Regions from separate parts of the Homo sapiens genome. Here region 1 is linked to region 2. The links are contacts of gene promoters, found by promoter capture Hi-C in human tissues and cell types (Jung and others, 2019). All regions are on one chromosome and are shown on one strand. Each heading gives the region's core, a stretch centred on a gene start or on the middle of the fragment in contact. The rest is flanking DNA. Distances are from core to core; before and after follow the strand shown.

Evidence for each region. Contacts are between HindIII fragments. The study calls those that stand out against the background at their distance.
Region 1: the fragment with the promoter of KPNA3 here is called in contact with a fragment that was not itself captured in region 2 in 1 of the 25 tissues and cell types used here (liver).

Annotation. Positions count from the first base shown.
Region 1 is chr13:49,789,139-49,794,244 of GRCh38, reverse strand. It overlaps KPNA3 (karyopherin subunit alpha 3), which reads left to right and starts at 1,563. Exons shown (of 17, transcript NM_002267.4): 1 at 1,563-1,807. The coding sequence starts at 1,739. RefSeq lists enhancers at 1,268-1,397, 1,201-1,862, 1,863-2,524, 2,529-3,048 and silencers at 1,468-1,717, 1,838-2,407. The HindIII fragment of the contact is 11,550 bases long and covers 1-4,520 here.
Region 2 is chr13:50,519,921-50,524,889 of GRCh38, reverse strand. All of the region lies in intron 5 of DLEU1 (deleted in lymphocytic leukemia 1), which reads right to left. DLEU1-AS1 (DLEU1 antisense RNA 1) reads left to right here. Exons shown (of 3, transcript NR_125753.1): 3 at 3,454-3,957. Among named protein-coding and RNA genes, the nearest start is that of DLEU1-AS1, 5.0 kb to the left of the region's middle. The HindIII fragment of the contact is 6,383 bases long and covers 1-4,513 here.

The DNA of each region.
Region 1 (5,106 bases), core at 314-2,813, 730 kb after region 2:
AGTGCTGGGATTACAGGCATGAGCCACCGCGCCCAGCCAAGGCCCTTTCGCTTTAAAGATTGTCCTTTTTGATCTCTTCATGGTATAGTCCTACCAACTTTTGACCTCAGTTCAATTATAAGTACTACAACATTACATACCTGCTCATGTCTACCATAGATTCTGAAAATTAACATACAAGCAAATGAAGCCCACCTGCTCCAGAAAGTAGCTTTTTGTTTTTGTTGTTGTTGTTTTTGTTGTTTTGTTTGAGACAGAGTCTCCCTCTGTCGCCAGGCTGGAGTGCAGTGGCGCCATCTCGGCTCGCTGCAACCTCCGCCTACCGGGTTCAAGCGATTCTCCTGCCTCAGCCTCCAGGCATGCGCCACCACGCCCAGCTAATTTTTGTATATTTAGTAAAGAAGGGGTTTCACCATGCGGGCCATGGTTGGCCAGACTGGTCTCGGTCTCTTGACCTTGTGATCTGCCCTCCTCGGCCTCCCAAAGTGCTGGGATTACAGGCGTGAGCCACCACACCCGGCCGAAAGCAGCTCTTTATCAGTGTAATCCATCCAAATTTCCCTCTTTCATTCTTTCGATGCCCCCAGAGGGAGTGGGAGTGCTACACAGGAGAGTCTGCGGACCAGGGCTGGGCTGCTGCCTGAAGGCTAAGATTCTGTGTGGTGGTAGAACAAGAAGTGTTGGGGGGCATGTAAATACAGGGACTGCCAGAGTGAAGGTTGCAGAACCGGGCTTGGAAGGATGATGAAGAAACTGGGCGACACTAAAGCGCCAGTTCAACAAGTATTGCGTATCTACGACGTGGTAGGCATTGTTTTGACACTAGAGATTCAGCAGTAATTCAACCAAAGTACCTGCTCTCATTGAGCTGAATTTCCGCGCGGGCACCTAGGTAACGCATATAAACACTCGTATCACATACATACACATGTACATGTCAGGTAGAAATGCTATTTATAAAACTGAAGCAGAGCATGGGAAGAGCGAATGAAGGTGGCTATTTGAGAAGACCCCCAAAAAAGCGAGACTGCAAAGCACTCGCGGTTGTTCCTTTTCTGATCTTCTAGCTACAGGCAGCGAGGTGCGCTCCCAGGAAGGCCCGCCCTCTTCCTCCTGATAGGGCGCAAGGTGCCAGGGACGCTCCCCCGCTCTTCCCCGCCCAGAGGCGGCCTTGTGGGGGCGGAGCTTTGTGCCCAGCAACATGAGCGCGGCGCGCAAAGAGCCGCGCGCGGAAGGGTCCCGGCATTCTCCTCGTTCTCACTAGGCGTGGAGAATTACTCCAGGCGGATCGTGGCATGATGGGAACTGTAGTTGACGACCGCCGCCCCGCGCCTGAGGGGCAGTAAAAGTCGCCAGGTCCGGCTCCATTTCTGGCACAAAACTTGCAGCACCGAGGGGTTGTGGAGAGCCCTTGCAGGGGAAGAGGGCAGGGTCATCCCGAGAACCAACGGGCACGTATAGCCCGGCGAACGCCCAAGCCGGTCACCGCCCCCGGTCACGTGTCGCCAGCCTCCGCGGCCGCGCGCCGCTCTCAGCACCGTTCCCGCCCCACCCGGCCCGGCAGTCGGCCCGCGCCTCCCCCGGCGCTACTGCCACCTCGCGCTCGGAGGCGTCACAGAACGTGCTCTTCTCTCCCCTCCCCCCTCCCGCTCTCCCCCTCCTCCCCCTCCCGCTCCAAGATTCGCCGCCGCCGCCGCCGCAGCCGCAGGAGTAGCCGCCGCCGGAGCCGCGCGCAGCCATGGCCGAGAACCCCAGCTTGGAGAACCACCGCATCAAGAGCTTCAAGAACAAGGGCCGCGATGTGGAAGTGAGTGTGCTTCCGCGGTCTGGGCCCGCCTGGCCGCGCCGGCCCGGCGACGCGGGGAGGGGCGGGGGGCCGGCGCCGGGCTGGTTCTCGTCGGCTTGTGGTCGGCCGGAGTTGGCCGCCGCCTCCCGTCACCGCGGCCCCGGGCTGGGCGGAGCGGGCGGCGAGACGCCGGCCGGGCTGCAGTCACCCCCCGGAGCTGCCGGCGCGGCGACCGGGAAATGCCGGCGTTTTCGGCCCCGTCACGCGGGCGCGGCCTGGTGTCGGCGAGGAGGGGATGTGGAGCTGAGGCGGGGTCCGCGGGCCAGGGCCGCCCGGATGAACGGGGATGCTGCCGCCCGGGCCCTCCGACCGCACAGCCGAGGGGGCGGCCGCTGCTTGCGCCCGCCACCGGTGCAACCTTCCGTCCGGTGCAGCCCCCTCTGCGCCTCCCGCGCGGCTCACATGGAGCCTCGGCTCTGCCGGTCCGGGCTCCTACCTTCTGCGAGCCGGGCCCAGGCGGGCGGTGGCGGCCCGCAGAGGGGGGTGGGGACCAGCCGGGTAACTGACTTGTTTGAGGGTGATCGATGGGGGAGGGTAGGATGCGCCAGGACCATTTTCTTATATTCCAGTGCTCGTCTTTGGACTAGTCGTGCCGAGCTGTTGCAGCTCATACTCCTGCAACTGCTGGCATTTGGAGCGAGCTGAAGGTGGACAATAGTTTGCCATCTATTGTGTTCAGGCTTCGGAAAAGAGGTTGCTCCGACCTCCGCTCATAGGACTTGTTTTCTTAGCCTTTCTTGGAGTGGGGTGTGCATAGGGTGATAATTTCTTTGACACGTTTTACTAAAATAAATTGGATACACAGGTTCATAATTCTCTTACATACCTCTTGCTCCAAGCTAGTAGAATTTCCAAGTGGTTGCAAAACTAAACATTCATCGCGGTCACTCAGTTAGTTGCTACTCAGCATGTTGCCATTGTCTCATTAAGGTGACATTAGCAGGTACTATTTGCAAACTCGGCTTATTGAGGCAGCGCTAGAGGTCTCTCTGCAGCTACTGAAAACAGTAAGTATAATGCACAAACTTCACTGGGACCGTGACCTTTGGATTTGTTAGGGGGAAAATGGTTTTAAGGCCGCAGCCTTCTTTGCTAATACTAGGCGACATGATTTGCAGTTTTGTAATTTTTGATAAGCTAGTGTGATTAAGAGGTGTGTTTTATCCTGTCTTAAGGAAGGTTGTGGGGTAAATATACCATTCAGTGTTCTATTTTGTAGAGAAACAGACAAACTCAGGCCGTTTTTCAGAGCTACAAAATTAAATACTAGTAGGAAAGAACCTAGGGAGATATCCGTGGAATTCCCATTTAAATGAGTCAAATAAAGATCATATATTCTTTCCTGGTCATGGTTAAATACCCTTTGTAAGAAATACATCTAAGCGAAAGTAAAACTTGGGAATAGGAACAAGAAATTTTGGAACTGCCTCCTGTTATTGGTCCACTTGATGACAAGTGTTAATTTTGAACTTTTCCCATTAGGAATTTTTCTTGAAGCCTATCCTGTTCCAAATAAAAATTTATTGAAAAATACTCATTGTTTGTACAGAAAAACCAGTAACATTCTTCTCTCGGATATTGGTACAGGTTTTTGTTTCATTGTTTACCTCTATTGTGTTCTGGTAGCTCAGTGATACTTAGTAAGGACTCCTGCACATAATAGGTACACAACAAATATTTGCTGATAAGAATGTAACCCGTGACTTTTAGATGCATGAAAAAGAGCATGGTTGCTAAGCCATTCAGCCTGGTATTGGTCACAACATTACATTTCTCGGGATTCTATAGTGTAACTAAAACATGAAATAGACATTCAAATGGTAGTTCTAATGTGGCAGACACTGTTACGAGCTTCATGATACCTTATTTAATCTGTGTAACAAGTATATGAAGTGTGGCATTATCCCCACTTTACATGAGTAAAGTATTTTTTGAGACGGAGTCTTGCTCCTTTACCCAAGTTGGAGTGCTCAGGCACTCATAGCTCAGCTGCAAGCTCAAACTTCTAGGTTCAAGGAATCTTCCCACCATGGCCTCCCAAGTAGCTGGGACTACAGGCGGACACCACCACACCTGGCTAATTTTTTAATCTTTTTTAGAGACGGGGTCTCGCTTTGTTGCCCAAGCTTGTCTTGAACTCCTGGGCTCCAGTGATTCTCCCGCCTCGGCCTTCCAAAGTGTTCGAACTACAGATGCTAGTCGTCACACCCAGCTGGAACTTTAGATAAAAAACCTCAGTGTGCTTATGTAGCCTGTGCATGTCACTCAGTGGATATGGGTATTATTTATTCACTAATTGTCTATTGGGTATCTATCAATGTTAGGTCTTGGGGATAAGGAATAAGATGCAGTCTGTACTTCAGGGAGTTTACAGTCCAGTGGGGGTGATAATTACAATGCAGAACAACAATTGTTACAGTATAGTATTCCGAAAATGCATGCCAAAAAAACTACTTGGAGGTGAGCAGAAAGGGAAGATACTCTGGTTGATTTCTAATGGATGAATGGGAGTGAGCTGATTGTGAAGGATGAAAGAAAGGTGGCCAGGCAAAGGGCGGGAGAAGGCTGGTGGAAGAAAGGGGCATTCCAGACTAGAGGGAGCAGTAATTGAAGAGTCCTGAGAGAAATGTAGGAGAGAGAGAGACTAAAGGGTAAACTGGGGTCAAATCTGATGAAGGGCCTTTATTGGGGATTTAGGCATATCTAAGAGTAGATAACCATGCTTAGTCTTGTCCATTAGAAACAGTACAACTTAGCTCTGTAACTGAGTAGTTGTGGTTATCAGGCTGTTCCAAAACAGTGAGATGCACTTTGATAAGCTATGATGCCTATTTTTTCACATATAGGATAGACAAAAACTAAAACATGTTATAAATTATAGAAGCAGCTGATACACAAGATGTTAGGTGCAAGAATAAGATCCATACTTGTTAAAGAAAATAAAAGGATAGAGTTATGCCAGGGGATTTGAGTAGAGAGAGGGTTGAGGAAGAAAATTTCTTTGTCATTCAATCGAGAGAGACTTTAAGAGATCTTTGGAGAGGAAAAAAAAAATGAGGTTAGTGAATCTTATAGGAAATATGTACCAAACTTAAAAGGGGCATGTTAACTGGTGAATAAATATCCAGGTAAAAAAGAAGAGTGATTATATTAAAGAGAGGAGACTTCCAGGTGGCCTGTGTTGATGCAAGAATATCTTGTGGCAAAGAGTTGCTTGGAAGCTTTTTCTTAATAGGGAGATGTGAAGGAATTTATTCCAG
Region 2 (4,969 bases), core at 73-2,572:
GGCAGCACTGCTCTTGTTAATGATAAAATGGCCAATTCTGCAATTCCATCAGCTGTGATAGAACTCAGTCCAAATCATTTTATTGCTAACCCTCAAATCACCTGACTAGTTATCAACTCATTGGAAAGATAGCGTAGCATTAAGAGCATGGACTATGGGACCTGGCTACCTGGACGTGAGCCCATCTCTGTGTCCCTTTGACTAGACAATTTTAAGTAACTGACATGACTCATCTGTGTTTCAGTATACCCATCTATAACATGGAGATGATAATACTGTCTACTTCATAGTGTGAGAATAAAATGAAAAAGAAATGGAAAGTACTTTGAAAAATTTCTGACATGTATTAATAGTAAGCTAAGTGTAGCTACCACTGTTTTCCAATAAAATAGTCCAATCTTAAAAAACAAAATGTGTGTTCTAAATTGTAGGAGGAGATGGATTCTTCAGGCACGATGGAGAATAAATCCAGTCCCTCTTCCTCCACTCTAGCATGAAGGGTCTACCATGCCAAAATAAGTTAGATTACAGAGTCCGGTGGAGCTAATATAGTGTACATATGCAGTTTGATCCTGGAAAGGAAGAGTGGTGACATTTCCTCTCGCTGGCAGAGCCCAAAACTAGATAAAAACAGGCAGTGTGGCTGAATCTGCGCTCCTGCATCAACTGCTGTGTGACTGTGGATGCCTGACATCTCTCTGTGCCTCACTTCCTAAACTTGCAATGGAATAACAATAGTACCTGCCCTCTAGGGTTGTTGTTTAGAGCAGTCACTGAATAGCTACACAATAAAATCCAGTTATTATTGTTGTTATTAGGATACCATTTGCCATTACCCAACTTTGTGACTCGGGATCTTGAGAAATTGCATAAATTTCATCTTTCAAGTTAAAGTAGAAGAACCAAAAGCCAGACAAATGTAACCTAAAGCCATATGTTTTGTTAAAGACAAGGAAAGGAAATGCCACATCATTATAATCATGTTATTTGGTCATACAGTATGACAGTATCTACAATCATCAATTCATGTCACTTTAAAAAAAATTACAGTGGGTTATTTGAATTAGAAAGCATTTCCATACATGAAAGCTTAATCCCCTTTAGACATTCCTCAATGTTCACAAATAAACTGACCTGGCAGGCATGGGTGCTCCTAGTCTTTGTTTTTAACATCAGGTGTGGAGGATAAGGGTAATAAACAATGTCTACTGATTCTGGTCATTCTGAAATGACACTTTTTTTTTCAGTTTTGCTAGAGCTTGGCACACCTTCATATTTCGAGGCAATGTATCTTCAAGGATCACTCATCAGAATAGTTGCACAAACTCATAAGTGGCAAGAACTGAAAATGCCTTGTGATTTTCAAAGTTTTAAAATAGCCCTATGGGGCTGGTGACCTCAGTCAGGTCAGCCATCAAGTTTGGGATCCGACAATAAAAGTCATAAAGTGAGTCAACTGAGTCAGAGAGGATGCAACAGCATTATTTTTCTCTTCTGGCTTCTCTAGTAAAGCAAAAGTTTTGGTGTTAGGGCTGTCTCTGCAGACAGGGAGTTTGGTTTCCAACACGCTGGGAGCATCCCTGGAGAATGCTGAAAAGCAGAATAGGCTGCCAGAGTCCAAGAGACGATATCAGTAAAGTTAGCACAAGATTTAATAGACTAGAATATACCCGCCCAATCCATTTCTCCAGCCTGATAATCCAGAGCAATTAACAGAAATTGCCCTGGTATTTTTAGCATTTTTAAAGTTTCATCTGGGCAAACGCAGAAATGGATAACTATGTTATCCAGACCTTACCACTGTTTGTTTTTGAGACTCTAAGATTAAACTAAAGACTGGCCTAGCAAAGCAGATATGTTTGCCCTTGCCTGAAAGGAGACAGAAACTTGGGAAGAAACAAGGGTCTTTGGAGTTACTGGGCTTCCACGAGGATCCTCAAGGTTTGCAAACACCAAATGGACAGGACTTCATCCCTGAAGTGCAGGCCAGTCCTACCTCCTTCACAATGACGTGCTGACATCATGGTGCAAATTTGCAAACATTTTTTGCCTTATTAAGAAAATTATTCAAACCTAGAAAAATGCAAGGGTTAAAGCCTTGCTTTCATAAACATAGCCTGTGTGTGTCGCAGGGTGACTTTTAGATATTATATGGAAAAATGCAGTAAAAAGTGCTGAAGTAGCCCATTCCGTTGCATTGAATTGTTAGGCAATTATGGTCATCCCAGCCTTAGTAAATTAAAATACATGATGAAAACCCAATCTAAGGACATCAACTGCTATGTACTAAACAAACTACACATCCCATTTAAAAAGCATTTAAAATTGTGTCAAGAGAGGTTATGTTGGAGGGACTATAATTTTAAAATCATTTACTGTACAACCATATATTTAAATTTTAACTTGAAGCTAAATGTTGCAAAATTAAATTAATCTTATTTGATAACACGAGGCAGTTTATACTCTTTCATTTGGGGTCGATGGAGCCCCTGGCACAGTCTTGAATTTAAGACCCCTACCCCATAGGAATAGTTAACTCTTGATCCTAGCATGCTCTCTCCTCCTGGAAGAGTTATTTAAAGTTAGATGTGTTTCTTTCTGTTTTTTTCTTAGCCACTTTTCTATCCCAAGCCCAGCAAAGACATTCAATTCATTCCCCCTACACCTCTCTCTCTCTTTCTGTCTTTCCTCCCTCCCCTCTCTCCCTCTCTTTTTCTCTCTCTCCCTCTGAAGTTTCTAAATCAGTTCCTACAGCTTTAGTTTTCTTTTTCTAAAATTAAAAACGTGGCTTCTGGCTATAAAACGAATCTCCCACCTTCAGCAGCCCCAGTCCCCTGGGGCTGTTACTGGCGTGATCTATAAATTAACTGGAATCACTTAGAGCCCTCAGTTAGCTTTTAGTCAAACATTAGCAGCAGTGTTTACCCTTGTGTAATCTGCAGTTGTTACTTAATTTAATGCCTGTCAGCATTTTTTTAAAGAACATGTTCAGCAAATCCTTGGCACAGGCTGTTTGAATTCCTTACTCTTCCCTTCCCCCACCTTGACCCAAATCAAGCTAAATGTATCTGAGTAGAAGCTTGCTAATATTTTTAATTTGCTAGTGTAGTTTTCCTTCTTCTTGAGGAAAGAAAGAAGAGTTTGCTTTCTGTGCCAATCCAACTACATCCTACTCAGAGGCCTGGGCTTCGTGTCCCCACTGCACCTTACATCAAAGAGGGTGAACTGTAAATTGTTAGGGTTTTTGTTTCTTGTTGCTCTGGCAGTGATCTGTGAGTGATGTAAGATGGGAGGCATCCTCAGACTCCCATTTGGAGGATGCTGGTGTGGCCCCCTGAAGAAAATCCATTGAAACAAACTTTGAAGTGCTGCCCAGTAGAGAGCTAAAAGCTGAACATATCACATCATAATTCATACATAACTTTGTGTGTTTTGAATCTTCCTCCTCCACAGCCACCACCTCAAATGTAAATAAATAGAGCCCTGGCCTTCCTACAGGGTTCTGTTGCTCCTTTCATAATGTGAGATCCATCTAGATCCGGCAGGAGAACTTCTCTAAGGCCATCATAAAGGCAGTAGGAAGTACTGATCTCAAACAGCACAGAGGAGGCTCCCCTCCAAAGAAGAGTGAAGCACATCGTTAGAGAATAAGAACACGGGGAAATTAAGAGGTGATCTTCAAAGGCTACAATGAACAGCTCCTCTCTGCTTTCACACACTATACAAGAAAAGACCTCCTTCAGTTCAGGAGGCTTTGGTTAACAGCCACATTCTCAATATTCTGGGTTTCAAGGCCAAGAAAATAAATGTCACAGTGGAAACCTCATGCTTTTTCAGGTGATATAATCCAAAAAATGTGTACATCTCAATAGTATAAAGGACTCTGAATCAGCCAGGGCTCAACTTGCTATTCTCTTCCTTGCCTGCAAGACTTGACCTTGAGTTTCAGTGTCTCTCAGCCGTACTTCTGCTTCCTGGTGACTAGAATTCAGGATTCTCTCCCATTTACCACTAGGGAAAACCCTACTGCTAAGGACCGTAAATGTCGGAGGATCCCCCTGAGTCTCACAGATGGCACTTGAAGAGAAGCAGTATGGAGACACAGGACACGAAGAAGGAAACAGAGACCCTGAGGACAGAGGCTCATGCAACTACTGCAAATGAACAAACACCAGAACAGGCATTTTTGCACTTTCAGACAGGGAGTTCCAGGACTGAGTGCACATACAGTCCATGGTTAGATTTCCAGGAAAGCCTCAGTGAGGGGCTGAATTATGTGCCATTAACTCAAGATACAGCCATCTTGGGAGTCAGCATATCTGTCTGAGCCCAGGTTATAAGTGCACACTGGTGGTCTATGGTTGCAGGCCGGTGTCACTGTCCTGTCACAGTCCTGAGATCTCCAAAGCAGCCCAGGTGACACATATGTCCCTGTCTTTGACTCTCCTCCAGCCCAACTCTGTGATACTACTATCAAGGCTCCAAAATGCAGCTGTTTTGCTACACAAATTATGAATAAGTTCTACAAACTTCTTGAACCATCTGGAAAGTGCTCAAAACACAGGGCTGCACAGACAAGGACTTTAAGGCTCAACTCACTCCCAGGTAATATTAGTGGCTCTTCTCAGCAAGAACATGAGCCCAGGTCCCAATAGCACTATTGAAAAAGGCAGTTCTGCTGTAGAATGGGTCCCTCTTTTTGCTGTTTCCACTGCTGAGTGCCCCCATCATGGGCATGCAAGATTTTTTCTGCAATTTTCCTTTCACAACTTTCATCAACTGCCTCTTCAATTTCCTGGTCTTGCACAATCTCAACCCAACTTACTTAACAGCACTGATTGTTCAGTTCTTATGGACAGTGTGTGCCTTTAGTCTTCCTCCAAGGAGAGTGCTTGACAAACATAAAATGGAAATCTTAGGAACACTTTTACACCATTGGTGGGAATGTAAATTACTTTAACCATTGTGG